Linked DNA regions of Homo sapiens: all the other regions are linked to region 4. Evidence: promoter capture Hi-C in 16 types of primary human blood cells and fetal thymus (Javierre and others, 2016). All regions are on one chromosome and are shown on one strand. The core of a region is centred on a gene start or on the middle of the fragment in contact, and the rest is flanking DNA. Distances in the headings are between cores, read along the strand shown.

Evidence for each region. The method cuts DNA at HindIII sites, captures the fragments that hold promoters and counts their contacts. A CHiCAGO score of 5 or more calls a contact.
Region 1: a contact is called between a fragment that was not itself captured here and the fragment with the promoter of PGLYRP4 in region 4, in 3 of 17 cell types (neutrophils, monocytes and M1 macrophages). The highest score is 9.0, in neutrophils.
Region 2: the fragment with the promoter of S100A6 here is called in contact with the fragment with the promoter of PGLYRP4 in region 4 in 1 of 17 cell types (neutrophils); the score reaches 5.1 in neutrophils.
Region 3: a fragment that was not itself captured here is called in contact with the fragment with the promoter of PGLYRP4 in region 4 in 1 of 17 cell types (neutrophils); the score reaches 8.3 in neutrophils.

The regions. Positions count from the first base shown.
Region 1 is chr1:153,558,148-153,566,097 of GRCh38, forward strand. It overlaps S100A2 (S100 calcium binding protein A2), which reads right to left and starts at 7,697. Exons shown (of 3, transcript NM_005978.4): 1 at 7,359-7,697; 2 at 5,587-5,740; 3 at 2,961-3,444. The coding sequence starts at 5,730. The coding sequence ends at 3,292. RefSeq lists enhancers at 6,054-6,811, 6,812-7,569, 7,689-7,748, 7,722-7,950. The HindIII fragment of the contact is 3,158 bases long and covers 2,788-5,945 here.
Region 2 is chr1:153,534,251-153,542,163 of GRCh38, forward strand. S100A6 (S100 calcium binding protein A6) reads right to left here and starts at 1,741. Exons shown (of 3, transcript NM_014624.4): 1 at 1,699-1,741; 2 at 952-1,110; 3 at 349-580. The coding sequence starts at 1,089. The coding sequence ends at 446. It overlaps S100A5 (S100 calcium binding protein A5), which reads right to left and starts at 6,684. Exons shown (of 3, transcript NM_001394232.1): 1 at 6,371-6,684; 2 at 5,804-5,955; 3 at 2,897-3,186. The coding sequence starts at 5,941. The coding sequence ends at 3,046. It overlaps LOC124904423 (a long non-coding RNA gene), which reads left to right. Exons shown (of 2, transcript XR_007066630.1): 2 at 654-3,425. RefSeq lists an enhancer at 1,731-2,366. The HindIII fragment of the contact is 28,060 bases long and covers 1-7,913 here.
Region 3 is chr1:153,586,257-153,594,137 of GRCh38, forward strand. No RefSeq gene overlaps it. Among named protein-coding and RNA genes, the nearest start is that of S100A16, 23 kb to the right of the region's middle. The HindIII fragment of the contact is 7,242 bases long and covers 1-6,399 here.
Region 4 is chr1:153,346,677-153,353,531 of GRCh38, forward strand. PGLYRP4 (peptidoglycan recognition protein 4) reads right to left here and starts at 2,165. Exons shown (of 9, transcript NM_020393.4): 1 at 1,852-2,165; 2 at 1,208-1,302. The coding sequence starts at 1,256. RefSeq lists a silencer at 6,000-6,049. The HindIII fragment of the contact is 10,086 bases long and covers 1-6,213 here.

The DNA.
Region 1 (7,950 bases), core at 3,117-5,616, 210 kb after region 4:
GTTTGTGGCAGTTATCTTTTTAAAAAAAAAAAGAAAAAAAAAAAAAACAGAGTCTTACTCTGTCACCCAGGCTGGAGTGCAGTGGTATGATCTCAGCTCAGTGCAATCTCCACCTCCCAGGTTCAAGCGATGTTCCTGCCTCAGCCTCCCGAGTAGCTGGGATTACAGGCGCATGCCACCATACCAGGCTAATCTTTGTATTTTTAGCAGAGACGGGGTTTTGCCACTTTGGCCAGGCTGGTCTCAAATTCCTGAGCTCAAGTGATCTACCCACCTCAGCCTCCCAAAGTGCTGAGATTACAGGCGTGAGCCAACAAGCCTGGATGGCAGTTATGTATCTTTATCTCACCTGTGAACATCGACTATGTTCTTCACAGGACTTCAGGTCAAGAGGAACCACTTTTGAGGAGCCGTCCTGGAGGAACTGCACATGAGAAGCCTTGTTCATATCTCTGGGCCTGTCTCAGATAATAAGATCAGAGACATCAAATTGATGCCTTAAAGAGATGAGACTTTGTGGGTCTTGGGAAGGAGATTAATGTATTTTGCATATGGGAGGGATGTGAATTGCGGTTGCTAGAAGACAGACTATGGTATTTAGTCTCCAAAGATGGTCACTGTCAATTTTATGCACGCTGCTCTTTACATTAAAAGATGTCTAGCCAGGCGCGGTGGCTCACGCCTGTCATCCCAGCACTTTGGGAGGCCGAGGCAGGCAGATCACGAGGTCAGGGGTTGAAGACCAGCCTGACCAACATGGTGAAACCCTGTCTCTATTGAAAATACAAAAATTACCCGGGCGTGGTGGCGCATGCCTGTAATCCCAGCTACTCAGGCAAGAGAATCACTTGAACCCAGGAAGTGGAGGTTGCAGTAAGCCAAGATCACACCTCTGCACTCCAGCCTGGGCGACAGAGCAAGACTCCATCTCAAAAAAAAAAAAAGAGAGAGATGTCTAATTCTCCTCCTCCCCTTAATCTGAGCCAGACTTAATGATTTTTTTTTATCATTAGAATATAGCAGAAATGATGTCCTGGGATTTCTGAAATAAATCTTAAGAAATACCAGGCACAGTGTCTCATATCTGTATTCCCAGCACTTTGGGAGACCAAGGCAGGTGGGACCCTTGAGTCCAGGAATTTGAGACCAGCCTGGGCAACATGGTGAAACACTGTCTCTACAAAAAATGCAAAAATTAACCAGGTATGGTGGCGTGTACCTGTAGTCCCAGCCACTTGGGAGGCTGAGGCAGGAGAATTGCTTGACCCTGGGAGGTGGAGGCTGCAGTGAGCCATTATTGCACCACTGCACCCGGGCCTGGGTGACAGAATGAAACCCTGTCTCAAAAATAAATTAATTAATTTAATTAAAATTAAAATTAATAAATCTTAAGCCTACCAGCTTCCACGTAGGCCTCATGCAATGCTCACTTTGGGATTTGTCCTCTCAGGACCCTACTGCCATGCTCTAAGAAGCTCAAGCCACATCGAGAGGCCATGGTAAGCACTCCGGCTGGCAGTTCTAGCTGAGGTCCCAGCTCACATTCGATATCAGTTGCCACGCATGTTAAGCAAGCTACCGTAGAAGTTGAGTTTGTTCAAACATTCAGATTACTCTAGCTCCGATTTCCACCTACATGGAAGACCCCACGTGAGAACCATCAACTAAACCCAGTCTACCTGCAGAACCATAAGAGATAATAAATTTTTGCTCTCGGCCGGGCATGATGGCTCACATCTGTAATCCCAGCACTTTAGAACCCGAGGCGGGCAGATCACCTGAGGTTAGGAGTTCAAGACCAGCCTGACCAGCATGGAGAAACCCGTCTCTACTAAAAATACAAAATTAGCTGGGCGTAGTGGCACATGCCTGTAATCCCAGCTACTCAGGAGGCTGAGATAGGAGAATCACTTGAACCCGGGAGGCGGAAGTTGCAGTGAGCAGAGATTATGATGCCACTTCACTCCAGCCTGGGCAACAGAGCGAGACCCTGTCTCAAAAAAAAAAGAATGTACAATATAATATAGAATGTGTTGTATAGAATACAATACACTTGTTTTCTGAAAACAGGTGTACTGCCTGTCTTGGTCCATTTTGTATTGCTACAACAGAATACCACAGACTGGTATTCAAAACAAAACAGATATTTATTGGCTCACCATTCTGGAGGCCAGGAAGTCTAAGCTGGAGGGGGTAACACCTGGAGAAGGCCTTCTTGCTGCATCATCTCCTGGTGGAAGAGCAAAGAGAGGGAGAGAAATAAAAGGTGGGGGGACAAATTCATCCTTCTATAAGGAACCCGCTCCTGTGATAACAGCACGAATCCATTCATTACAGCAGAGCCCTCATGGCCTAATCACCTGTTAATTACTATTGCTTTGGAGATAAAGTTTCCAACACATGAACTTTGGGGAACACATTCAAACCACAGCACTGCCTATGGCCTGTATTCTTTTTTTTTTTTTTTTTTTTTTTTTTTTGAGACACAGTCTTGCTCTGTTGCCCAGGCTGGAGTCCAGTGGCCCAATCTCAGCTCACTATAACCTCCATCTCCCAGGTTCAAGCAATTCTCCAGCGTCAGCCTCCCGAGTAGCTGGGAATACAGGCATGTACCACCACACCCAGCTAAATTTTTTGTATTTTTTGGTAGAGACGGGGTTTCACCATGTTGACCAGGCTGGTCTCGAACTCCTGGCCTCAAGGGATCTGCCTGCCTTGGCCTCCCAACGTGCTGGAATTACAGGTGTGAGCCACCGTGCTCGGTCTAACAAGGAATCTTTTAAATAAAGCTTTGCGGGGTCGATTAGACTAATTCATATCTCTTGAGTAGATCCTGGTACAACTCATTACTTGCAGTATTGAATGTTAAGGTCTGTCCTTTATTCTGAAATTATACCTTTCCTCCTTTATTGGAATTGAAATTTTATCTTTTTATGAAATGATAGTGATGGTGGATGGTATTTGCCTTTTTTAATATCTTTATTTGACAAAATAAAAGTCAGCAACCTATCTCGATTTCCAATTTTTTGCTGGTGTTTGAAATTCCAAAATTGAGACCTAAAGCATAGCTCTGGCCTTGGAGAGATTTCCAGGAGAGTCAGAGCCCAGAAGGGAGCAGGATCCAGGAGGCCCTCATCTCCCAGCACTCCAGCTGAGCCAGCCGGGTTATGGAACATCACTGAGCAATTAAAATATTATCAACAGACAAAAAAAGTTTATTGAATACAAAACTCAAAGGCATCAACAGTCCTGGGCCCAAGAGATCCATGGCAGGAAGTCAAGAGTTCTGCTTCAGGGTCGGTCTGGGCAGCCCTGGAAGAAGTCATTGCACATGACAGTGATGAGTGCCAGGAAAACAGCATACTCCTGGAAGTCCACCTGCTGGTCACTGTTCTCATCCAGGCTGCCCATCAGCTTCTTCAGCCCCTCCTCATCCACTTTCTCCTGAAAGTGACAGGAAATACACTCATCACCAAGCCAGCCCCAACCCCAGCTCCACCAAACACCCAGACCCTCACACATTCAGGTTGGTTCCCAGCTCTCCCTCCCCACTGGGCAGCTGGGTATAAGGTGGGCAGGAGGCCCTGGGAGCTACCAAGAGGGCCCAGTGAGTAAGGAGAGAGACAGATACTCATTGGTGAGCATCTCCAGTGTGCCCTCCTCCTGGACACAGGGAGGACACTGGATGCTCCTCTGAGCATGCATCAGCTCGAATCCCACAGGAGCCCAGCGAGGTAGGTATCATCACCCCATTCTGCTGATGAGGAAACCGAAGGTTGCTGCTCCCCAACACCAGCCAGGTAGATTCAGAAAAGAACACTTTTTATTTTTTAAGACAAGGTCTTGCTCTGTTGCCCAGGCTGGAGTGCAGTGGCACAATCACAACTCACTGCAGCCTCAACCTCCTGGGCTCCAGCAATCCTCCCACCTCAGCCTCCCAAGTAGCTGGGACCACAGGCTCATGCCACCACACCCAGCTAATTGTTTATTTTTAGTAGAGACAAGGCCTCGCTATGTTGCCTAGGCTGGTCTTGGCAACCAGAGTGATCTCACTTTGTCACCCAGGCTGTATTATAGCTCACTGTAACCTTGAACTCCTGGGCTCAAGCAATCCACCCAAGTAGCTGGGACTACAAGCGTATGCCACCATGCCTGGCCAATTTTTATTTTTATTTTTGTAGAGATGGAGTCTTGCTATGTTGCCCAGGCTGGTCGAACTCCTGGGCTTAAGAGATCCTCCTGCCTTAGCCTCCCACACTGTGGGGATTACAGGCATAGGCCACTGCACCCAGCTGAAAAACACTTTTTTAATACTAGCCGAAATAATTAGAAAAATTTAACCAGCCACAAAAACAAAATTAAAAAAAGGAAAGAAGGACCTGCCTCATGTGTTCAAAGCCTGACACCTAACTTTGGGAATCACCAATGAGTCAGTATAGGGAGGGTGAGGGACAAATTGAAGGTCGATGCATTTCTCCACAAAATGTCCCAGACTATATATCTTAGCTGGGCTTTTCTATCCCTACATACTTTCTTAGTTTGGCATATAAAAATGGAAAGAGGTCAAGCACAGTGCCTCACATCTGTAATTCCAATACTTTGGGAGGCCGAGGTGGGAGGATTGCTTGAACCCAGGAGTTCAAGCCCAGCCTGGACAACATAGCAAGACTCCATCTCTACAAAAATAAAAATTGGCCAGGCATGGTGACAATACTCCTGTAGTTCCAACTACTTGGGAGGATTGCTTGAGCCCAGGAGTTCGAGATTACAGTGAGCTATGATCCAGCCTGGGTGACAGAGTGAGATCTTGTCCCCCCACCACAAAAAAAAAAAAAAAAAAAGGAGTCCGGGCACGGTGGCTCACGCCTGTAAGCCCAGCACTTTCAGAGGCCGAGGAGGGCAGATCACCTGAGGTCAGGAGTTCGAGACCAGCCTGACCAATATGATGAAACCCCGTCTCTACTAAAAATACAAAAATCACTTTGGGAAGCCGAGGCAGGTAGATCACGAGGTCAGGAGTTCGAGACCAGCCTGGCCAATATGGTGAAACCCTGTCTCTACTAAAAATACAAAAATTAGCTGGGCGTAGTGGGATGCGCCTGTAGTCCCAGCTACTCAGGAGGCTGAGACAGGAGAATTGCTTGACCCCTGGAGGCAGAGGTTGCAGTGAGCCGAGATCGTGCCATTGCACTCCAGCCTGGGCAACAAGAGGGAAACTCCATCTCAAAAAAAAAAAAAAGAAAAGAAAAGAGAGAGAGAGAACGTGCCAGTGCTGTGTGATCTTGGGACAATCACTTTTCCCTTCTGGGCTCTGGTTTCTCAAGTCTCCAATGACAGGATTAAACAGATGGACTCGGAAGGCCCTCACAGCACATGGTTCTCTGGAATGCTGCAGGAAACAGCCATTAATTAAGCACTCCCACTCGGGCCTCATTTCCACTCCAGTGGAGCCATGAAGCTAAAGTGGGGAGGGGGCTGGGCCCCACCCTGGCACCTGCATCGACAGGCACCCGGAACTGGGGGAGAGATTTAACCTGCACCCCCACACTCACACCAGGACCTCCCCCACAGGCCTGTGCCACTCACCCCCACAAAGCTGGGCAGCTCCTTGTGCAGAAGTTCCTTCATTTCCCCCTTACTCAGCTTGAACTTGTCGCCCTCTTGGCAGGAGTACTTGTGGAAGGTAGTGACCAGCACAGCCAGCGCCTGCTCCAGAGAACTGCACATCATGGATCTGTGGCTGCAGAGGTGCCAGGTGATGGGTACACTGCTGAGGCTCTTGGGGCCTTAGCTCAGCCTGTAGGATCCACTTCTGCCCTATGCCCCCAAGCCACCTCACAAAACCCCTCTCTGAATGGGAAGGCAGGGGCTGCATCTCCCCCTCAGACTGTGGTTCCCTGAGGCCGGAGGCGATACCTCCATCTCACCCTGAGGGCAGACGCTAAAGCTTCCCTTGTGTCTGGGAGTCACCAAGCCTCCTCTGATGGCACTTGGGACACCCCCCTGAGGGCAGGGCTCCCCATTTTAGTGTCTGCCAGAAGGGAAATGACAGGGTGACCAGAGTCCCATTTTGATGGCATCTGCGCAGGCTCTGGGGAGCAGGGCCACATGCACCGGCTGGCAGATGGGGGCTCCTGTGCAGTCTGGCAGGAGCCATGGCTACAGCCTAGGAGCAGGAAGCTCCCTGAAGGAGTCGTTTCCCTCCTTAGACTCGGGACTCCTGAAGCCAGAGGCATCTCTCTCTGCCATCTAACTGGAAGCTCCCTTGGGCAGGAGTGTTTCCTCTCTCAGACTAGGAGCTCCCAGAGGGTGGGGAATGTGTCTCCCCTCACCCTGAAGGCCCCTGAGCCTCTAGGCAGACAGGGGCATGGATAGGGTGGGGGCAACTTAACATTCTCTCCACCAGGAAGGATCCTGTTGGAATTAGAATTAAAGATATGAAATGTTCATTGCCTTGGGATCAGGATGGGACAGACCTCAGCGGCAAGGCCTCTGAGAATACTCAGACCAGCCTGGAAAGGTTAGGCAGGTTTCAGGGTGAGGCCAGAGGAGCTATGCCAGAGGCAGGGCATGCCCTGGGCCCATCATGCCAGCCCTGCCTTCACCGAGGCAGGGGGCAGAGCTTTGCTGCTTGGGGCCATGACCCAGGCAGAGTCTTGAGACCCCTGCCTCTTGCACCTTAGTCCTGCTAGAATCCAGGACTTTGCAAAAAAAAAAAAAAATCTCAGGATTCTTTTTGCAGCAACGCCCACATGCACACCTCCTGCTCCTAGGCCTAGACCCCCAAAGAAGGGCCCCTAGACTGAGATATCCAGGGGAGGGCCTCAGAGCAACCCCTGCACTGAGACCTCACAGAGGAACCTGGAGAAAAACCCTTCAGTCGGCCGGGCGCGGTGGCTTACTCCTGTAATCCCAGCACTTTGGGAGGCCGAGATGGGTGGATCACGAGATCAGGAGATCGAGACCATCCTGGCTAACATGGTGAAACCCCATCTCTACTAAAAATACAAAAAAATTAGCCGGGCATGGTGGTGGGCGCCTGCAGTCCCAGCTACTCGGGAGGCTGAGGCAGGAGAATGGCGTGAACCTGGGAGGGGGAGTTTGCAGTGAGCTGAGATCACACCACTGTACTCCAGCCTGGGCGACAGAGCGAGACTCCATCTCAAAAAAAAAAAAAAAAAAAAAAAACCCTTCAGTCAACACTTCAGCACTTCACAGAGAGTTCTTCCAAGGGGGAAGGCCCAGAGAGGCCCAGGTTGATCCCACCAGGGAAGCTGGAATGAGAGAACTGTGGAGACAAAGACAGAGACCCACGGGGATCCTCCCCACCCTGCCCTCAGCAGGACAGAGGTACTCACCAGACCAGGTGGCAGAGACAGACCCAGGAAGGAGAGCAAGGCAGCCAGGCTCCCAGGGTGAGGATTTATATGTGGGCCCCACTGGCCCCCAACTTGGCATTTTAAGGAAACCAAACCTGCCTCAACCTGATCCCACCAAACCCTGGCCTCTTGCCATTCCCACTCATTCCCTCCCAGCCCCCTCCCTCCCAGAGAGTGCCAGCTCCACCACCAGCTGGGGGAGGGCTCTAGGCCAGGTCAAGGGCAGCCCCTGAGCCCACCCAGGCCACAGTGGGAAGTGGGAGGTGTCGTGGGGACTGGGCATCCTGGACCGGGGTGAGGGGAGGCAACCCCTGCTCTGGGGCCTGGAGACTGGTGCCAGGCCTCATTCTCATGACATGCCTGTGAGTCACAGCCCACTCCTGTGTGAGAGGCTGTGAGCACACGCTGAGACTTCATGGTCCAGTGCTCGTGTACATACATGCGCCCGTGTGTGTGAGAGAGAAGCAACCTGGGGCCACCCTTAGGAAGCTGGGGGCCAGAGGAGGCAGCTGGGGGACATCAGGAGGAGAAGGACAGGACTGACTTCAGGGCATGGATGAAGTGGAGTGAC
Region 2 (7,913 bases), core at 491-2,990, 190 kb after region 4:
GCAAAACACATCTGGGAGCCTCTGGGACTATCTCTGCCTCACTTCCAGGCCCCCAAACCCCATCACATCCCGGCCCAGGGACCATTTCCATCTCCAAGCTCATCCCAGGACTCTCTCTACTGGAAACCACTTGAGCCTTTCCTTAGGATGGCGTTGCCAAGAGGGGCATCTCTCCTCATTCACATAAAGGCACCTTATGTGCTAGAGGCAGCCTTGTCAGGGTGGGTCCTCTGGCCTGGCGAGTCAATGAGTCATTTTCAGAGGTTGACCGTGAGCAAATCTTCCAATGGCTGGTGTCCCACTAAGCCAAGGAGGAACAGAAATCATTCGGAAGCCAGGACGCAAGGGTAAATTTGACCAAAAAAAATTTATTGTACAATTACCCACCACTGGATTTGACTCAGAGAGGACCCCCAGAGGGTGTCTCCATCTTCCCTATTTATTTTCAGCCCTTGAGGGCTTCATTGTAGATCAAAGCCAAGGCCCCCAGGAAGGTGACATACTCCTGGAAGTTCACCTCCTGGTCCTTGTTCCGGTCCAAGTCTTCCATCAGCCTTGCAATTTCAGCATCCTGCAGCTTCTAATGTGTTAGAATGTGAAATCCATACTCAGTGGTGATGACAACCCTGGATTCTTCCCCTTCCCCCTCCCAGGCAATCCTCTCTGCAAGTGGCTCTGTGCTCCCTCATCACCAAGGACCCATGTCACTTTGGCATTGCTTCTCCTCAGCTACTTCTCAGTTACTGGTCCTCATTTGGAGAGATGGATATCCGGCTGGAAGCATCCCCTACCCGCTGGGAGAGTGGGTCTACAGCTCAGGGTCTACATGTGGACCAGGGCCTCAGAATGTGGGTAAATGTGAGTCAGATGCACCTGGCACCTCTCTCTCCCCTAATCCTGCTTCCAAAGGACAAGGGTGGGAAAAGGGGTCCTGGGGAGGAGGCCACTCACCGAGCCAATGGTGAGCTCCTTCTGGATCAGCTCCTTCAGCTCCTTCTTGCTCAGGGTGTGCTTGTCACCCTCCCTGCCGGAGTACTTGTGGAAGATGGCCACGAGGAGGCCAATGGCCTGATCCAGGGGGCATGCCATGGCTGAGGGCTGGGCTTGGAGCTGGCAGCAGAGGGCCTAGTCAGTGCCATGGGAGCAAGGACTTCTCACCCACACACCCCAATAATGCTGCCTGCACTAGCCCCGCCTCCTTTGGAACCACCCAGTCTCAGGCCACACACAATGGCATCAGGAGACAGCCCAGGGCTTGAAGGGGAAGGAGAGAGCACACTAGGGCCAAGGCAAGAGAGGTGGCTTAAGGATTCTAAGAAGCATATAGGAACAGTAGCTTTGGGCACAGCTGAGAACTGTCCTTCAGGGGATCCAGAAGTTGAGGAGTATGGCTGGGCAGGGGAGGGGAATGGAGGCTGCAAAGGCAGCTTAAACACAGCTTCACAGGGCCACACATGGTGGCAATGACACACCCAGGGCACTCCCTTCCGCACCCCAAAAGAGCACACCCCATTGCGATCCCTTAGCCCAAGGCCTGCCTGGCACAGCACTGCTGCTCCTGACTATCCCTCCAGCGGGGGAGCGCCACAGATGGCCCCAGTCTGGATCCAGCGGCTGAACTGGGCAGGGGATGGCTGGACCCCCAGCGTGAGGGCAGCTGGCCCTGGAAAGTACCCAGGGCTCCTGGAGAGAACTCACCGGTAGGGAGGCGGCCAAATGCGACGCGAGCGGTCGAGGGGATGGGCTGTGTCGCAGTCCGACTGGCCTTATAGCGGTCGGTGCCCCGGAGGCCAGCTCGGCCAAGCCCACCCCGCCCGCCCAAGTCCCGCCCGCGCCCCACCCTGCGCCGTGGCTTACACAACGCACATTCGCGGTTTACCCCCTCGACTTTCCACGCCTCCTGCCCGGGGCTGTTCCGGGTTAGGACGGGATGGGGGAGCCCAGCAGTGCCCACTGCACGCCTGGTGACGAGTCTCCCCTCATCTGCGCAGCTCAGTTTGCTCAGTTTGCTCTTCGTGACACGTGACTCGGCAAGGGGAGCAGGAGGAGGACTGCGGCGGTCACCCCTGCTTCCTCTGCCAGACCGTGAATGTGACCCTCGAGCCAGCGCAGCGTCAATGTGGGCAAGGAGGGCGCCTCACAGGATGCCGGTGTCCCACAGAGGATACTCAGGGTCACCCCAGAGGAGATAGGGGGAGTAGCCAGTGGTGTAAAGGATATCTACGGCGCCCATCCCCCACCAGCAACAAGTTCCTACCAACACCTCCACTCCTTCCCCTCAGTGCCCCAAATTCCATTCACTACAGCACCTTTGGTGTTAATGTGCATGCACGTGGGAGCCCAGCCCTGTAAGCACCATTCGTTATTTACGGGGGAGTGAAGGCCTTTTCAGACCCTCCCCTGAGAAAAGATTTTGATGGAGGAGGCAGGGAGAGAAGAAAGCACTGTCCCCCATAGATGATGAGAGTGGTGCTATTGAAGGGGAAATGGTGAAGAGGGAGGGGGCTGGTGTGGAGGCCAGACATGCCCTTCCTACAGGTGCTGCCAAGGTGGCCTCCGGTGAGCTGTGGACAAGTCAGGCCTGCCTGCCTATCACCGCCCTCAGGAGCCACTCCCAACCCCTCCCAGTGTCCTCCTCTCAAAGCAACTTTCCCTCTTAACTTCCTCTGCATCCTTGCAGAGTTCCCGCCTGGCCTAACTTCCCCATTTTCCAGGCAGGCAAAACTAAGCCATGACAAAACCAATGACGTCCACACCAAAGAAGGAGAGGAATGCAGTGGGAGCCCAGGACCCTAACCCCCAGAGGCAGAAGCTGTCTCAACCCACTCAAGGAGAGACCCTTCCTGTGCTCCCCTCTCCCCAGGCCAAGGTAGACAAGACAGCTTCAAAACCAGACTCCCAGCACCTGCGATGGAAACTTTATTTCCTCCCATGGAAGGGTCCATCTGGGAGGGAGAGGAGGGCAGGGGGCCAAAGAGGGTCTGTGAGAGGAGCAGCCGAGGTCAGCAGCAAAGGGTGGAGGGTGAGGGTGGAGGGCAGCCCTGGTCACTTGTTGTCCTCTAGAAAGAAGTCGTTGTAGGCCATGCACAGCATGGTCAGGAACACCGAGTACTCCTTGAAGTCGATCTCCTGGTCGCTGTTCTTGTCCAGGCTCTTCATCAAGTCATCGATGCTGCTCTCCTTCATCTTTTGTGGACCCAGGTGGAGAGACAGCTCAGACCCCGCTCCCAGCCCTGCCCTCGCACCACTGCATGGTGTCATCCCCACCCCGAAACTTCAGGGTGAGCCCCAGCTGAGTCAATGACACTGTCAGCATCTCGACCCCCAGAGTCTGCCCACTGCCCACACCTAGGGAAGGGCCTGGCATGAGGTAGGGGGTCAGGGACCTGACTCCTGAATGGAAATAAATGACAGCAGGAATGCTAGCCTAGCCTGCCTTCCCTGCAATACTGTCCCCCAGCCAAAGAAACAATCATCTAGGTTTTATACCAACACCTGATAAAAACAGCTTGCTGGGTCAGGTGTGGTGGCTCACACCTGTAATCCTAGCACTTTGGGAGGCCGAGGCGGGTGGATCACCTGACATCAGGAGTTCGAGACCAGCCTGACCAACATGGTGAAACCCTGTCTCTACTGAAAATACAAAATTAGCCAGGCATGGTGGTACATCCCTGTAATCCCAGCTATTTGGAAGGCTGAGGCAGGAGAATCGCTTGAACTTGAGAAGCGGAGGTTGCAGTAAGTAAGATCATGCCATTGCACTCCAGCCTGGGCAACAAGAATGAAACTCCTTCTCAAAAAAAAAAAAAGAACACCTTGCTGATTATGTGGCATTGAGCATTATCCAAGTCTCTGAGTGACTCTCTCCCCATTCTAAGGACTAGGTGAGAATAACCCCGGACAAAATGTCTCTCAATGAGAGCAGTGCACTGGGGCTGTGAAGCCACTGCATCCCTCCCCTGCTAGGAGAGCTGTGCAAGAGGCCTGCCTGGAGCCTGGTTGTGCACTGTTGTTCAGTCCCCTGATGTCCCAGCCTGGCTCCATTAGGACGATGGAGTCAGGGTCCTTTGGGTGGAACAGGAAGAAAATATAGACAAGCAGATCCTGATGTCTCCTCATCATTGCCGTCAGCTACAGGTTTTCACAGGAGACATTGGGACTTACAAAGGCGGAAACTGCTTGTCTGTCACGTGATCCTAGTCCCCAGCCTGGGCTCCTGTTATTGCCAGGCCCTCCTCTGGGCGTCTCTCCTTCTGTAATTAATCCCTGCTGGACCTGTGGCCCCTCCCTCTGCCCTCATTAACCTCCAGGATGCAGGCAGCCTGGCAGAAGGCCAGAGATCAGGCCTGGGGACGCCCATACCTGCTTCTGTCCCCTGCCCATGTGGCACACTGTGGACCTTCTTTCTGGGAGGGCCTACCAGGGCTCAAGGTGTGATAGATGGAGAGGCACCCAGGCTAAATTTTAAAGGAAACAGGGAGGATGATTCACAGGCCTGGCCCAGAACTCCAGCTCAGCCTCCCACTAGCGGATTGTCCTTAGGCAAGTTATTTGATGTATTTGAGCATTGATTTTTTTTAACTATAAAAATAATAAGACTAGGCACAGTGGCTCATGCCTGTAATTTCAGCACTTTGGGAGGCTGAGGCGATAGGATCATTTGAGGCCAGGAGTTCAAGAACAGCCTGGGTAAAATAGTGAGACCCCATCTCTACAAAAAATTTTAAAAATTATCTAAGCGTGGTGGTATTTGCTTGTAGTCCTAGCTTCTCAGGAGGCTGAGGTAAGAGGATCACTTGAGCCTGAAAGTTCAAGGCTACAGTGAGCCATGATCGCACCACTGCACTCTAACCTGGGTGACAGAGTGAGACTCTGTCTCAAAAATATTTATCCTTGGCCAGGCGCAGTGGCTCACGCCTGTAATCCCAACACTTTGGGAGTCCGAGGCAGATGGATCACGAGGTCAGGTGTTCGAGACCAGCCTGACCAACATGGTGAAACCCCCATCTCTACTAAAAATACAAAAATTAGCTGGGCGTGATGGTGCGTGCCTGTAATCCCAGCTACTGAAGAGGCTGAGGCAGGAGAATCGCTTGAACCTGAGAGGCGGAGGTTGCAGTGAGCCAAGATCATGTCACTGCATTCCAGCCTGGGTGACAGAGCGAGACTCTCTCAAAAAAAAAAAAAAAAAAAAAAAAAAATATATATATATATATATATATATATTTATTTATTTATTTATCCTCGGGGATATTGTATTATAATAACCTCATGGGCCTTCCCCTCTGTCAGTCACCTCCCTCCCACCACCTCCATCTGGTGAGAACCAGTTCTGTCTCCTCACTACCCTATGTTTACAAGTTAACCTTTCAGTTTGAGTGCCAGCACCATCAGAGAGCCCTGGCCATGCTGTGCACACAGAGAAGAATCAGGCAGAGTCCCTACACTTGAGTTGTACACAGCTGGACCTGGACACCCTGCATCCCTTCACCACCCATGACCCCTAGCACAGGTTCTGCCACTGCTGGGAGAGCCTGGCCCCACCATCGAAGGCTCCTCAATCTCCTTCTCTAAACCCTCCAGACTCAGCCCTTCCTCCTTCTCAGTGAGACCCTGACCCATTCTCCTTCACAGAGGGCTAGAGTTTTGCTGGCCCGAAATCCCCACCATCTTCCTTTGTCTCTGTCTGTAGCCCTTGGCCACCCTGCCCCTGGCTTAGGCTGGAGGATCCTGAGGGTAGGTATGTGTCCCCCAGAGGGAGTACTCAGACTTTGGGGTGGAGGATGAGGGAACAATCACCTACCTCCCCAAGACACAGCTCTTTCTTGATCAGCTCCTTGAGTTCCTTCCTACTCAGGGTCAGTTTGCTACCCTCTCTCCCCGAATATTTGTGAAACGTGGTCACCATAGTGGTCAGGGCCTTCTCCAGAGGAGTCTCCATCACAGTGTGCAGCTCTGTAGAGGGAGAGGGGAAGATCCCATTCCTCAGGAAGTCACCACCAGCAGCACTAGCCTACCTCTGAGGCCCCTCCCTCAAAGAACAAGAGACTGGAACCCAGGATGAGACTGAAATCCACTAACAAGAGCGCCCATCTATATCAGTACAGGTTACAATGAGACCCACAACAAACTCTGGAGCTGCTGGTACAAGGAGAACAGCAAGACCCCAAAGGAGACCACAGACTCTCCTGCTGGGGAGTTGTTGAAAAGTAGGCCTGAGGCAGAAAGATGAGAAGACGACCTCCTCAAAAGGCCCTGGTGGCAGATGGTGGAGCAGATCAAGGGTCACGATTTTCTCTCTGCTTCTTCCAGCTTAGGAACTGGTTTTCCACAGGCAGTTCACCAGCCTTTCCCCCAGTGCCTGAATCACCTGATATCGAGGAGTGTCCCATTATTAAAGTCGGGGACAGGGCAAAGAGAGAGTCCAGGGCTGAGAGGGGGCTGGGCTGGAACTGGGTGATGGGGTCTCAACAAGGAGCAGCAGGGAGGTGAGCTGAGCTGGCCCAGCTGGTCTCCAGACTCTGGCCCAGAGCAGTGCACACAGAGACGGGTCAGCGGGCAGGGAGGGCAGGGGGCCTCTTGAAATCTCCAGGATCATTCCAAAACCTGGATCCAGAGGCTACGCTTGAATAAGGGCCTGGATTCCAATAGCACAGCCACCCTCAGCCAAGGGAAGAGACAGATGGAGCTCAAGTGACTCAGACTCAAAAACCACTTCCCCCTCAGGGAGGAAGGAGGCAACACCCACGGAACTTGAAGGCTGCAGGTTAAATCTGTGGAGAGTCTTCACCTCCAGCCCAAAGCCCTCCCTGCCATTCTTGAACCAGACCCATCATTCCTCTCCCACCACAAAAACCTCAGCCTCTCCCACCTCAAGGAGACTCAGCTGGGACCACAGTTGAAGGCAAGGGACTCTGTGCACCTGCAGGAGCATCCTGGCTAGTCCAGACCCCCACCTCCACCCCAGAGCCATTTCTCAAGAAATTCCAAAGGCTCTGCCCTCTTCTCCCTGAGCGCATGCCCGCTTGTGGGGCCAGGCCTCCTTGGTGGAGGTCACCACCACTTGTCACCCTCATCATCCAGCGTGACCCACCAGATATCAGATGAACAGAGACATAGGAAGGAAGGACTTACCACTGTGGGAGTGAGCCCAGAGAATCCAAGCAGCAGGCATAGCCTCCCTCTCACTGCCTTCTGCCTTTATTTCCCTGATCTCTGTCCCTAGGAATCCAGGGGAGAGAAAGGGCCCATGAGAAGTTGTTGGGGACTTGAGGATGCCCACGTCAGAGCCTCCCGGGATGGAGCTGGGGAGAAACCCCTTCTGCCAATCTCACCTTCCTTGTTTACAAACAAGGGCTGGGGACACACTGAGTTCCCATAGCACACACGTCCCCAATCCCAGAAACTTTACTCTTCTGACCAAAAATCAGAACTCAAAATCTGAAATCTGATGGAACAATAAGCCGAAGAAGGGAAACCAGGCTGTCCTGGAAAGAAAACCTCAGAAGTGTGGGACAAACACAGGGCACCATCTCCCCGTGTCCTAGGAAGCTCTCCACATCGGGCCCCTCCCACCCATCCTGCCACCCACTCCAGGAGTAGAGAAGACAGCCCTTGAGATGGGGATCAGTGGAGGAAGATATTTTCTGCGAAGGATATGGTCAAGGTCATGAGCTAATATGGGCCCAGAGGTTTTTAAAGGGCTTTTAAATGAACGATTTCTTCTAGGCCTCACTGCTCTTCACAGGAAAGGCTCGTCGGAGACTCTTGGCATGGAGGACTGAGAATCAGGAATAGGGAAGGTGTCCAGCGAAGGGCTAAGGCCCAGCACTGGGGTAGAGGTTGTGGATTGGGGAGGGGGGTTCAGGTTCAGGCTGCAGTCAAGGAGGAAGTAGGGGCCAGGGAGAGTTTCC
Region 3 (7,881 bases), core at 1,529-4,028, 240 kb after region 4:
CCCCAGACAGGGAATTAAAAAAAAAAAAAACAGAGAGGAGGAAATAATGAAGTAATAACATTGAAACACTTCTGAGAATTAGAGAAAAAGATCTCAGATAGAAAGGGCTCATAGAATGCTAAATAGGGTAACTGAGGAAAAAAACACATTTAGACTCATATTGAAGTGGAAGAAGATCAAATTCAATTAAAACTCTGAACATTTCCAAAAGCAATAGATTGCCTACAAAGGAATTGAGAAGTAGGTCCGTTGTGCACTGGTTTCAACCTGTCTGAGTCAAGTTAAACAGACACACACAGACACACTCAAGTTACATGAAGCAGGTTTATTACTTACAGATTGAAAGCAGGGGACAACAGAAGCCTCAGATTCATGGCAGGCTGGTACCCCAAGGCTCAGAAAAGCTGCCCAGGAACTACCAGTCATACTGGATTAGAAAAAGAGGAAAAAAAGAAAAAAGAAAAGCTGCCCAGGGCAGATGGAGTCTCAGTTACATGTGCCCCACTTGCATCTCAGCTGAGGGACTCCAAAAAGCATCCTAAGGCTGGGCATGGTGGCTCACGCCTGTAATCCCAGCACTTTAAGAAACTGAGGCAGGAGGATTGCTTGAGGCCAGCAGTTTGAGACCAGCCTGGGGAATATAATGAGACTCCATCTCTAGAAAATAAAAAACAGGCCAGGCGCGGTGGCTCATGCCTGTAATCCCTGTAATCCAACACTTTGGGAGGCCAAGGCAGGCGGATCACCTGAGGTCAGGAGTTTGAGACCAGCCTGGCCAACATGGTGATACTCCCATCTCTACTAAAAATACAAAAAAATTAGCTCGATGTGGTGGTGGGCACCTGTGATCCCAGCTACTTGGGAGGCTGGGGCACAAGAATCGCTTGAACACGGGAGACAGAGGTTTTAGTGAGCAGAGATCGGGCCACTGCACTCCAGCCTGGGCAACAGAGTGAGACTCCGTCTCAAAAAAAAAAGAAAAGGAAAAAGAAAAAAATCAGCTGGGCATGGTGGCACACACCTGTACCCCCAGCTACTTGGGGGACTGAGGAGAACAGATTTCTTGAGCCCAGGAGTTCAAGGCTGCATGAGCCGTGATTATGCCACTGCACTCCAGCCTGGACCACAGAGCGAGACCCTGTCTCAAAAAACAAAACAAAAAAAGCAGCCTGCCCTGGATTTACACCCCTGGGGCAATGTGACATGCTTGGCTAATGAGTTGAAGGACATCCTGTTTCTAGGGGTTACTGGAACGGGGCCCAGGCTGTTCACCAGTCCCTCTTTATCTCGGGATGTTGTATCTCAGCCCATTCTACAGTTATTCCTGAGAGCTCCAAGTGATAAAGGGGAGATAACTGGATAAGGCCAAGGCCATGGGGAGAACTGTCCTGCAGGAACACGAATCAAATTGACATCAGACTTCTCAATAGAAACACTGAATACAAGAAAGTGGCAAGGTTTGTAAGTACTGAAAGAAATTTTAGGCTAGGTGCAGTGGCTCACCCAGTTAATCCCAGCACTTTGGGAGGCTGAGGTGGGAGGTTCACCTGAGGTCCAGACCAGCCTAGCCAACACATTGAAACCCCATCTGTACTAAAAATACAAAAATTAGCCGGACGTGGTGACATGCCCCTGTAATCCCTAACTACTCAGGAGGCTGAGGCACAAGAATTTCTTGAGCCTAGGAGCCTAAGGTTGCAGTGAACCAAAATTGCGCCATTGCACTCCAGCCTGGGAGACAGAGCAAGATTCTATCTCAAAAAAAAAAAGAGAGAGAGAGAGAGAGAGAAAGAAAGAAAAAAAAATTCTGTGTAGCCAAATAGTCATTCAAATTTGAAAATATAGTAAAAAATATTCTCGGCCAGGCGTGGTGGCTCATGCCTGTAATCTCAGCACTTTCAGAAGCCGAGGCGGGCAGATCACCTGAGGTCAGGAGTTACAGACTAGCCAGACTAGCCTGGCCAACATGATGAAACCCCATCTCTACTAAAAATACAAAAATTAGTCGGGCATGGTGGCGCGTGCCTGTGGTCCTAGCTACTCAGAAGGCTGAGGCAGGAGAATTGCTTGAACCCGGGGAGGCAGAGGCTGCAGTGAGCTGAGATTGCGCCACTGCACTCCAGCCTGGGTGACAGAGCAAGACTCTGTCTCAAAAACAAAAAAAAAATTATCGCATTACAAAAGCCTCAGAATGTTTGTCACACAAAGACCTACATTTACAGTTCTCAAAGTATCCAAATAAGAAGAGAAATAAGTTCAAGAGGATAGGATGATGCCTGCAATATAGGAAATAAACATGATTAAATGACATAATAAAATTGAATATCAACAAAAGCTAAAAGGGGGAGAGAGTCTGAGAAAGAAGAGGTGGAGGAGAGTGAGAGATAATCAGAATGGAATGATTGGTTGGAGAGTAGAGTCTCTAGTTACTGTGTCATATATTTGCAGCTGGACTCCGTCCCATAGATGAGCTGAAGCAAAAGGACCTTCACACAGAACTTTTATCATCAGCCTGAGGAAAAGTACTCGAAGGACAAGGCCATTGGTTGGGAACTTACACCAAAAAAAAAAAAAGAAAAAAAACCTGAATTATAGATACTATGAATATGATGAAAATAAGCAGAACGGACCGGGTGCAGTGGCTCACACCTGTAATCCCAGCACTTTGGGAGGCCGAGGCAGACAGATCACCCGAGGTCAGGAGTTCGAGACCAGCCTGGCCAACCATGGCCAACATGGTGAAGCCCCGTCTCTACTAAAAATACAAAAATTAGCCAAGCACAGTGGCGCACACCTGTAATCCCAGCTACTCGGGAAGCTGAGGCAGAATTGCTTGAACCCAGGAGGCAGAGGTTGCAATGAGCCAAGATCGTACCACTGCACTTCAGCCTGGGAGACAGTGCAAGACCCCATCTCAAAAAAAAAAAAAGAGGAAGGAAAAGACAAGACTGATGGGATAGGAGGGTGTGAAAGGAACTTTATTATTAGGAAGAATATAAATAATTAAAAATTATTCAATGAAGTAGCATAAAGTCAAATTAAAGCAACTACATTAACAAGAAAATAGAATGTATAGTTTTCAAAACATGAGAAGAATGTTGGCTCTATGTAATGGAAAGTAACAAAGGTGGGGAAAGAAACAACAAAGAAGGCACAGTACATGAAAAATATAAAATTAAATGGCAGAATAAGTCCTAATATTATAGTAATTGTAATAAAGATGGGTAAAGTAAACACACTTCTTAAAAGACAAACGTTCCTGGGTTGAGTTTCTTCCTTAAGGTTCAGCAATATGTTGCATACAAGAGAAACACTGAAAATAAAAAAACTTTATCACGGGCTGGGCGCAGTGGCTTATGCCTATAATCCCACCACTTTGGGAAGCCAAGGCAGGCGGTTCACCTGAGGTCAGGAGTTCGAGACCAGCCTGACCAACATGGAGAAACCTCATCTCTACTAAAAATACAAAAAAATTAGCCAGGCGTGGTAGCACATGCCTATAATCCCAGCCGCTCGGGAGGCTGAGGCAGGAGAATCGCTTGAATCTAGGAGGTGGAGGTTGCAGTGAGCCAAGATCACACCATTGCACTCCAGCCTGGGCAACAAGAGTGAAACTCCATCTGAAAAAAAATAAAAAACCATTTCAAATATTTAAACAAGAAAATAGAAGGAATAAACAAAAGGAAGAAAATACATGAAGCAAATATAAACCAAAAAAAAATCAGGGAAGTAATTTTAATATTTGACAAAAGAGGATACAAGAGGAAAAATATAAAAGACAAAGAATGAGGTAATACAAGAAAATACAAACACCAGGAACATAAAAGCACCTACTCATATAGCCTCAAAATATATAAAACAACAACTGATAAAATTTCTGAGGCTGGGTGTGGTGGCTCATGCCTATAATCCCAGCATTTAGAGAGGCCAGGGTGGGAGGACTGCTTGAGCCCAGGAGTTCCAAGACCAGCCTGGGCAGAATAGTGGGACCTCATCGCTATTAAAAAATAATAATAATTAATTAAAAATTAAAAAGAAAAAATGTTTTTTGGAAGAAATAGATTAATTATGGTTAGAGATTTTTTACACACCTTTCTCTGAAACTGGTTGATCAAGGAGACAAAAATAAGCAGAGGTATAAAATAGCTGTATAATATCATTGGTAAATTCAAGCTATTGGGCTGGCCATGGTGGCTCATTCCTGTAATCCCAGAACTTTGGAGGGCCAAGATGGGTGGATCACCTGAGGTCAGGAGTTCCAGACCAGCCTGGCCAACATGGCAAAACCCCATCTCAACTAAAAATACAAAAATTAGTTGGGCATGGTGGTGGGCACCTGTAGTCCCAGCTACTAGGGAGGCTGAGGCAGGAGGATCACTTGAACCCAGGAGGCAGAGGTTGCAGTGAGCCGAGATCACACCACCACACTCCAGCCTGGGCAACAGAGCGAGACTCCACCTCAACAACAACAACAAAAAATTTAAGCTATTGGTGTATATAGAATTTCACACCCAACAAAGAGAAAATACATAATCTTTTCTAGCATGTATGTATCACGTAATATTGAATATGTTGGATGCTATAAAGAAAGCCTTGAAAAATTTCAGAGACTCACTATTATCAGATTAAGGCCAGATGTGTTGGCTCACACCTATAATCCCAGCACTTTGGGAAGCTGAAGCAGGAGGATCGCTTGAGCCCAGGAATTCGAGGCTGCAGTGAGTTATGATTGTGCCATTGCACTCCAGCCTGGGCAACAGAGCAAAACGCTGTCTCAAAAAAAAAAAAAAAAAAAAAAAAAAGGGCCACCTGTAATCCCACCACTTTGGGAGCCCAAGGAGGGCAAATCACAAGGTCAGGAGATCAAGACCATCCTGGCTAACACGGTGAAACCCTGTCTCTACTAAAATTAGCCGGGTGTGGTGGCAGGCGCCTGTAGTCCCACCTACTCAGGAGGCTGAGGCAGGAGAATGGCATAAACCTGGGAGGTGGAGCTTGCAGTGAGCTGCCATCACGCCACTGCATTCCAGCCTAGGCGACAGAGCGAGACTCCATCTCAAAAAAAAAAAAAAAAGTTTGCAATATTATACAGATTATGTTTTTCTGACTGCAATGCAACAAAATTTTTAAATTAATAGATAATAACGGCCAAGTGCGGTGGCTCACGCCTGTAATCTCAGCACTTTGATAGGCCGAGGCTGGCAGATCACCTGAGGTCAGAAGTTCAAGACCAGCCTGGCCAACATGGTGAAACCCTGTCTCTACTAAATATACAAAAAATTAGCTGGGCATGGTGGTGAGCGCCAGTAATCCCAGCTACTCAGGAGGCTGAGGCAAGAGAATCGCTTGAACCTGGGAGGCAGAGGTAGCAGTGAGCCAAGATCGAGCCATTGCACTCCAGCCTGGGCAACAGGGCAAGAGTCCGTCTCAAACAAACAAAAATAGATAATAAAATAGTTTTAAAATAAATCACCCAAAAAACTGAAAACAGCCCAATGTCCATCAATAGGACTATAGATAAATAGGGTATTTTCATACAATGAAATATGATAGAGTAGTAAAAATGAATGAACTCCATCAATATAAATCTTAAAATAAATCTCTTATTTTATCTGGGCACGGTGGCTGACACCTGTAATCCCAGCACTTTGGGAGGCCAAGGTGGGTGGATCACCTGAGGTCAGGAGTTCAAGACCAGCCTAACCAACATGGAGAAACCCCGTCTCTACTAAAAATACAAAATTAGCTGGGCGTGGTGGTGCAGGCCTGTAATCCCAGCTACTCAGGAGGCTTAGGCAGGAGAATCGCTTGAACCTAGGAGGCAGAGGTTGCAGTGAGCCCAGATTGAGCCATTGCGCTCCAGCCTAGGCAACGAGAGTGAAACTCCATCTCAAATAAATAAATAAATAAGTAAAATCTTATTTTAAACAAGAGAGGAAGTTGCAGAAGAATTTATATGCTATGATACCATTTATGTAAAGTGCAAAAACATGCAATACTAAATAAAATATTGTTTAAAAATTAGCTGGGCGTGGTGGCGGGCGCCTGTAATCCCAGCTACTTGGGAGGCTAAGGCAGGAGAATCACTTCAACCTGGGAGGCAGAGGTTGCAGTGAGCCGAGATTGTGCCACTGCACTCCAGCCTGGGCAACACAACAAGACTCCATCTCAATAATAATAATAATAATAATATATTGTTTAGAAATTTGTACACATGTGATCAAAAAATTTTTCAATCAAGGGGATCATAAATACACAGTTCAGGATAGTGACTACAGCTGTGGAAAGTGCAAGTACAATACGGAAGTGTACACAGAGGCCTTTAACTGGATCTGTAAGTTTTAGTTATTTATTTAAAGCAATCTAACTCAAATATAGAAAAATGTCCAACTTCAACAAAGCTTATGATTAGATATTGTGTTATTTTCTGTACTTTTCTGTACCTTTGAAATACTTCATCATTAGAACAATAGGAAAAGAAAAAGAATCTTTAAAAAGGAAGAGCATCCATGAACAGAAAGCAAGCTGTGTATCAGGGAGGAGAGTCCAGTTCCCCTGAGATTTTCCCATGAAACACACAATGTCAGCAAACAGTAGAGAGAAGGTTACAGGGCTCAGAGAGAAAGGGTGACCCAAGAATTGTATTCCCTGCCAAGCTGCAACAGACTCGAGTTGAAAGAAACAACTCAGGGAATACATAAAACAAGGGCCCTTTGAAATTCAACCAACCAAATAATAAATCACATTAAGGATGCAGGAATTAAGAAACCAAGCTAAACGCTCTGTCTGTGAGCATCGCATTCAGAGAACTGAAGCTAAACTTACATGGAAATCACGGTTACAAGACAGAATGTAAATACTGTATACATAATATAACTATCAGATAGTGCTACTCTGGGGTACAGGAAATGGAAGTGTAAATGTATTATTTTCCTCATCCCCCTGGAAGAATTCGTAAGTCACCGTCTAAAATGAAAACGTGTAGTAAGGGCCGGGCAAAGTGGCTCATGCTTGTAATCCCAGCACTTTGGGAGGCCGAGGTGAGCAGATCACCTGAGCTCAGGAGTTTGAGACCAGCCTGGCCAACATGGTGAAATCCTGTCTCTACTAAAAGTATTTTAAAAAAAATTAGCTGGGCATGTATTAGCTGGGCATGTATTAGCAGACACGTGTAATCCCAGCTACTCAGGAGGCTGAGGCAAGAGGATTGCTTGAACCCGGGAGGCAGAGGTTGCAGTGAGCCGAGATCGGGCCACTGCACTCCAGCCTGAGCGACAGACTCCATCTCAAGAGAAAAAAAAAATTACCTGAAGTTCAATATTTTGTTCATTTTCCCTTTGGCTAACTACAAGTAAAATAATTTAAATTGTACTTTTTTGATAAATAACATTTATTATGATCTACTTTCATAACTTTTTTTTTTCCAGGATGGAGTCTTGCTCTGTCACCCAGGCTGGAGTGCAGTGGCATGATCTCGGCTCACTGCAACCTCCGCCTCCCAGGTTCAAGCAATTCTCCTGCCTCAGCCTCCAGAGTAGCTGGAATTACAGGCATGCCCACCACACCCAGCTAATTTTTGTTTTAGTAGAGACGGGATTTCACCATGTTGGCGAAGCTGGTCTTGAACTCCTGACCTCAAGTGATCCATCCACCTCGGCCTCCCAAAGTGCTGGGATTACAGTCGTAAGCCACTGCACCCAGCCTGAAGCACATTTTTAAAGAATGATTCTGGCTGCTATATGAGTATATAAGGTGAGTATGTTCCTATAAAGGAACAAGGGGAGATGCTTGGAATGTCTAAGTAAGAGACAACCATGATTCTGATCAATATGGTAGCAGTAGAAGTGGAAAGAGGGATTAATTCTGGATATGTTTTGAAGA
Region 4 (6,855 bases), core at 915-3,414:
GGCAGGGTGTTGATTGAGACCCTTACCCACAAGGAGCTTTCTCTTATTGACAAGCACAAACCCAAGCCATAGGCTGGACTCTGATTGACATCATAATAACACAAATGTAATCCTTGCTCCTGTTTATTTGCTTTTACTGCCCACGTATTGCTATATCTTCAGGTGCATTATCTCATTTAATCCTCACAGTGAGTTTAGGAAGTCATAACTATCTCAATTTTCAGATGGGAAAATAAGGGTTTATAGAGCTTAATTGCTTGTTTAAAATCATTCCTAGAGGCAGAGCGAGGACTTGAATCCAGGTCTATAGGCTCCAAGTTCTGTGCTCTATGTACAATCTATTCTTTCTCCTTAAGAGAGAGTAGGTTTTGGGGGATTTTTTCGTTTTGTTTTGTTTTTTGTTTGTTTGTTTGTTTGAGACGGACTCTCACTCTGTCACCAGGCTGGAGTGCAGTGGCTCAATCTCGGCTCACTACAACCTCTGCCTCCCGGGTTCAAGCAGTTCTCTCATGCCTCCCTCCCGAGTAGTTGGGACTACAGGAGCGCGCCAGATGGAGTTTCACCATGTTGGCCAGGATGGTCTCGATCTCTTGACCTCCTTATCTGCATGCCTCGGCTTCCCAAAGTGCTGGGATTAGAGGCGTGAGCAACTGCGCCCGGCCAAGAGAGAATGGGTTTGTTTTTGTTTGTTTGTTGGTTTGTTTGTTTTTTGAGACAAGTTCTCGCTCTGTCACCCAGGTTGGAGTGCAGTGGCACGATCTCATCTCACTACAACCTCCATCTCCTGGCTTCAAGCAATTCTCCTACCTCAGCCTCCCTCCTGAGTAGCTGGAACTAGAGGCATGTGCCACCACACCCAGCTAATTTTTGTATTTTTAGTAGAGACGTGGTTTCACCATGTTGGCCAGGATGGTCTCGATCTCTTAACCTCGTGATCTGCCCACCTAGGCCTCCCAAAGTGCTGGGATTACAAGCATAAGCCACCACCCCTGGCCAAGAGAGAGTAGTTTTTTTTGTTGTTGTTTGTTTGTTTTTGAGACAAGTTCTTCCTCTGTCACTCAGGCTGGAGTGCAGTGGTGGGATCTCGGCTCACTGCAGCCTTGAACTCCTCAGGCTCAGATGGACAGTAGGTATTTTTTAATTCCTATTATGAGACTTTAGGATCACCCTTCTCGGTTGCTTTTTGGCCCAGGGAAAGAAAACTTACCCCAGGCCTGGATACCCAGAGCAGAGAAGACAAGAAGCCACGGCAGCATCCCCACGTGGTCCCAGGACACCAATCTGGAGAGTGTGGATGGCAGCCTGAGAGAGACGCTGACAGTTGTTAACATGACCATTCTCAATCTGCAGAGCATCCCAAACCCTGACTGCAGTGGGTGCCATCTGCCTCCTCTACCATCCTGTGGCCTCCTGAGGGCCAGCACCTGCTTCAGTCTTCTCAGGGCCCCCAGCATACAGCAGGTGCTCAGCATCCCTGTCCTATTATTACCCGAGGAACTCAATTTCATCACGTGCCCACGGCGTGCAAGGCTGTGTACACACTTGCACATGCAGTCTTATTTAATTAGTCCTCACACTAATCCTGTCATGTAAGACTGTTAACCCCCATTTTTACAGACAAAGGAAGTAAGATCCAAGAATGGTACAACCGAGAAATCCAGACTCATATGGATGGGTCTTATGCAGAGAATCCCTTCCCAGCTGGGAATATGCCAGATGAGGGAGATATAGGAGTAGGAGGGGTTCCTAGTTCTAGGGCAGAGGAAATCCAATCCTTAACACTCTTTCTGGTGGATTCCAGTCCCTTTGCTGGAAGAGGGCTTCTGAAGAAGAAACACATACTCAACTCACAGATATCTGTGGGTCCTGTGCTGTCCCAGCCCAGCAGGTCAGGGTGCAGTCAGCTTGCCCCTGATTGGCCAGCAGCTCCTTCCCTTCCAGACTTGGCCTCCAGGCCCTGCCCTTCTTCACCAACTGGCGCCTTCTCCTCCAGCCTTCACTCTCCCTAGCCCTAGAGGGCACTCCCTCCCTGGGAATGGAGCACTCGGGCTCTAGCTTCCCAGAGAGAAGAGAGCCCAGGATCCCTAACAAAAGATGGGGAGAAGGGAAGACAGAGGGCAAGGCTCTGAGCCAGCTCCTTTCACAGCACCTGGAGAAATGCAAGTGGGACCAGACTCAGGCTGAGAGCACCTGGGGACCCGCCCTGTGAATAAGCCCAGGTAGCTCCTCCCTGGGAAAGGGCAAGATTGCCCAACACTCCCGAGAGCTCGTCCTCAGCCCCAACCTGGGAAAGCCTGCAGGGCCTGAGGGTTGTGTCTGCAACATCTAGAAACTTCCTGCCTGTGAAGTTCTGCTCCAGGAGCCTGAAGACTGTGGATTGAAGTCACTCACCAACACCACCTTTTACCAGGGTCATGAGCAGGGTCAGGATGGACAGAGAGAAACTGGGAGGTACAATCTCAGGAAACAGCTCACGATGCCTAATTCTGCCCCAATAGCTTACATGTCTGCCCATCATCCTCCCGCCTGCCACTCCCCACCGTCGGCATCAAGCTGCCACCTACCACAGAAAGCCTCCCACAAACCAAGAATCTCCAGCTCCTCGCCATGTTCCAGTTGTCACCTAATCTCATTCCACATTCTGCAACCTGGACTTACAGCCCTTGAGTCTTCACAGAGGAAACTCTGCATGACACTTTCCAAGAACGCAGTAGGATGCAGTCTCCACGGGGACCTGCAGAGCCTCTCATGTCCCGGAGGGTGGGGCAGCCTCCCTAGACACTTAGGAAGTGCCCTGAATCCAGAACAGTTGCTCTCAGTGAGCTGCAGTCCCACTCTCAGACTGGGCTCCCCAGGAGCGCTCTCTGGATGGGGCCCATTGAGCATGCGCCAGGTCTACCTGGCATTCATCCCAGTCATGCACCCAGACCCAGGCTGGAGCTGTGTGATGAGCAGGGGCTGCTGAGCTCTGTCCTGGGGTGAGGGTGAATGTGGGGCAGAGCCAGAGACAGAGATGAAGGAGACCAAGAACTGCAGCCTGGGACCAGCACTGTAGGGACCCTGGTAGTTTCCCCAGCCTGGCAACATGCTGTTTCTCCATGCCTTTTGCTGGCCGCCCATCCTAAATAAGTAGAACAGTTCTCAAAATGAGAAGGTTTCTGGGCTTGCATCCGGGGCACCAAGGACTTGAGGAGACTCGGTTCCCCTTTTTGGAGCGGCTTGGGGAGGGGAAGCCCAAGAAGAGATTGGGTGGTGGCTGCCAAAGGGGACCAACAGATTCTCTGCCCCATCCAGAGACCAACAGATTCTTGAGGACTAACAGACTGAGGGCTGTCCGGGACGAGGGCATCGGGAGGGAGGAAGAGAGCAGTGTGGGTTGTCCCTCTCTGATTCTGTGAACTCAGAATCCCGAGAGGACCTCCTAAGTCCTAAATTATCTGGCCCCCAGCCCCATCTCACTCCACGCTGCCAGAGCAGGCTCCCAGTGCTCTCTGCCCCACCTCCCACCATCTCAAGACCCTTCCCAAGTGCCCAGCCTCGCTCCCCACCTGCGCCCAGAGGCTCCACTTCAGCCTGGCATCTTTGGAAAGGGCTCCGTGACTAGTTGGGACTGGTAGAGGCTCAGAGTCTCTCTTCTCCATTCTAGCACCTGAATGAATTGTAATTATAATCTCCTCAAGAGCAGTTCCCAAGTCTATCTCTTTACCTGCCTTTAATACTATCATTATTTATATTTACATTTTTTTGTCCTCTGTCTTAAGCCTCCCTCCAGCTGTGAATTTCACAGAAGTGGGAATTTACTTTATTCTGTAGTCTCAGGGTTTAGCTTAGTGTCTGGCATAATGCTGACACATGTTAGAAACTCAATAAGCATTTGTCAGATAAAGAAGGAAGGAAGGGAGGGAGGGAGGGAGGGAGAGAGAGAGAGGGAGAGAGAGAGAAAGAAAGAAAGAAAGGAAAGAAAGAAAGAAAAAAGAAAGAAAGAAAGAGAGAAAGAAAGAAAGAAAGAAAGAAAGAAAAAAGAAAGAAAGAAAGAGAGAAAGAAAGAAAGACTTAAACAGGACACTCTTTTAAAAGGTGTCAAAAGAAGAAATGGAAAGGAAAAGCAAGCCAGCACACCGACCTGCCTCAAATAATGCATACCTTCAAGTACCTAAGGCAGTGGTTCTCAAAAAGTGGCCCAGGGGAAACTGGGGGACCCCAAGACCCCTTGGGGGGGTCCATGAGATCAAAACTAATTCCAGAACAATATTCTCTGAACTTCCCACCACAGGAAACTGCCCACAAACCAAGACTCCCGGCTCCTCACTTTCCTCACTGTGCTGATATTTGCACTGATGACACAAAAACAATGGTAGAAAAAACCGTTAGAGACATGAACCTATGTGTGGCGTCAGACTGCACTAGCAGTCATTGTATTCTTCACAATGTATTCTTTCAAGAAAAGGAGGCTCACTTAGGAATGTTTTTGATGAAGCAGTGAAAATTACTCATTTTATTAAATCTCAACCCTGATTCTCTCAAGGAAAAGCATTTGTGTGCTACAGTTGTGAGCTGAACCAGCCACTTTTCATGGACGCCGTGAACAAATAACATAGAACAAATGATAGCCAAACTATGGATACTCATATTTGGGTATGCGGCATACATTTTCTTGAAAATTAACAAAGTGAGCCTTTCACTTCCGGGAAAACAACTACAATTTGTTAGCATAATAAAATTGGAGCTTTCAGTCAAAAATTTGAATTTTGGAAAATTTGTGTCTGCCACCATGAGTTTGACAGCTTCCCAATATTTGAAGACTACTGACAGGATCAGTGGTGATATTAACAAATGTGGTGGGGCTTTTTTGCTTTTTTTGTTTTGTTTTGTTTTGTTTGTTTTTGAGACGGAATCTATCTCTGTCGCCCAGGCTGGAATTCAGTGGCATGATCTCTGCTCGCTGCAACCTCTGCCTCCCGGGTTCAAGTGATTCTCCTGCCTCAGTGTCCCAAGTAGCTGAGACTACAGGCATGTGCTACCACACATGGCTAATTTTTTGTATTTTTAGTAGAGATGGTGTTTCATAGTGTTAGCCAGGATGGTCTCGATCTCCTGACCTCATGATCTGCCCGCCTCAGCCTCCCAAAGTGCTGGGATTACAGGCGTGAGCCACCACGCCCGGCCAAATGTGGTTTATTTATATGTGTGTGTGATATATATAAATATGTATATATAGAGAGTAATAAATGATGTCAGCATTTAGAAGACGTACATAACTCAGTCAACCAATATTTTCCAAATGATCAATATATGAAGTCACAAAGTTTGGATAAAAGATCCATTAAATTTTAAGAGGGACCAATTGATTCTAATGTAACAGAGAACAAATAATTCATTGATATGGTTTCAGACTTTACGTTGCAACTAACCTTTGAGAAACCATCACTTGTTGGGTTTTGATGTAATATGAGAGAAGAATATCCACAATTATATATTTAAAGGCTATTAATGTATTCATCCCCTTTGCAACTACTTATCTGTGGGAGATTGGATTTTCTTCAAATCTTCAACCAAAGCAACATACAGCAATACCTTGTATGCAGAAGTAGATGTGATAAACCAGCTGTCTTCTTTGAAGCCATACAGTAAAAAGGTCTGCAAAAATGTGAAAAAAAAACACTCTTCTCACTAGCTTTTGACATATATATATAATTATTTTTAATTGTTTAAAAACGTGGTAATACGTAATGTGTTTATTAATGGTACTTTAAGTGAGTTAATAAATCATTTTAAATTTTTTAAACTTTTAATGTAGTAAATACTGATACATCTAATCCACAAAAGCTCTTTGGGATACTCAATAACTTCTATGAATACATATAAAAGGGTCCAGAGAGCAAAAAGATTAAAAACCTGGGGCCAAAGGAATCCCACAGGCTGTCCTGATGCAGATAGGCCACAAGGTGGCAGCATGCGCCCTCTGATAACTCCGGAGTCACCTTTCACTCACTAGGAGTCTCTGAGCAACCTCTTTTATCCATCACTCCCTTCCACTTCCTTCCTTACCTTCATGCTTCTGTGTGGCACGTCTTTTTTTTTTCTAACTAGCTTTATCCACCAACGCCTTCATAATTACAGGGCATAGCCATCTCCTAAGCATAAGTTCTGGCCAAACCAAGCCAGTCATTCATTTTATTCTGCAAACATTTGTCAGGTGTCACTCATATGCAAAGCTTATCATCCAGGGATGAGTACATTGAGAACACTGCTCTCAAGTAGTTAATAATATAATGAGGGAGACAGATCCAAACGCCAGTGATTATAATGCCTGCTGAGTGTGAAAACCCTTTATTCTTTACAAAGGGCTGTGGACTTCAAAGGGAGTCCTGAGAGCAGAGGATGCCAAAAGCCAGATGCTGAGATACTCGCCAAAAATTTCTGCAGAGATCTGGAACCTAGGGACATAGTGAGCGCAAAAGCCAGGTTCCCAAGAGATCGGGGAGGAGAAAGGGTTGGAGCAACAGAAGCCAGGCAACAAAAGGGAATGCCAGCTTTCTCAATTTTGAAGGTGGCATGTCTGAGAAATTAGGAGGATGATGAGCAGAGGCAGCCAAGGTGGAGACAGGGGGAGAGGTCCAGACTTGGGGAAGCTTAGGTTGAATGTCTAAGAAGCCAGATCATTGGAGGGTCCTCACTGTGGATGCTGGAGCAGCCCAGCATGGGGGCAGGGAGTGCGGCTGCTCTCAGCAGAGGGCCTCAGAGACCTCAGGATGGCCAGTCAAGGGAGGCCACAAGGATGCCAGGGGTGGTCAAAGCTTGATGTGGACTGAGCCCAAACGTGGTAGAACAATGGTCTGAAGCTACCCGTGGATA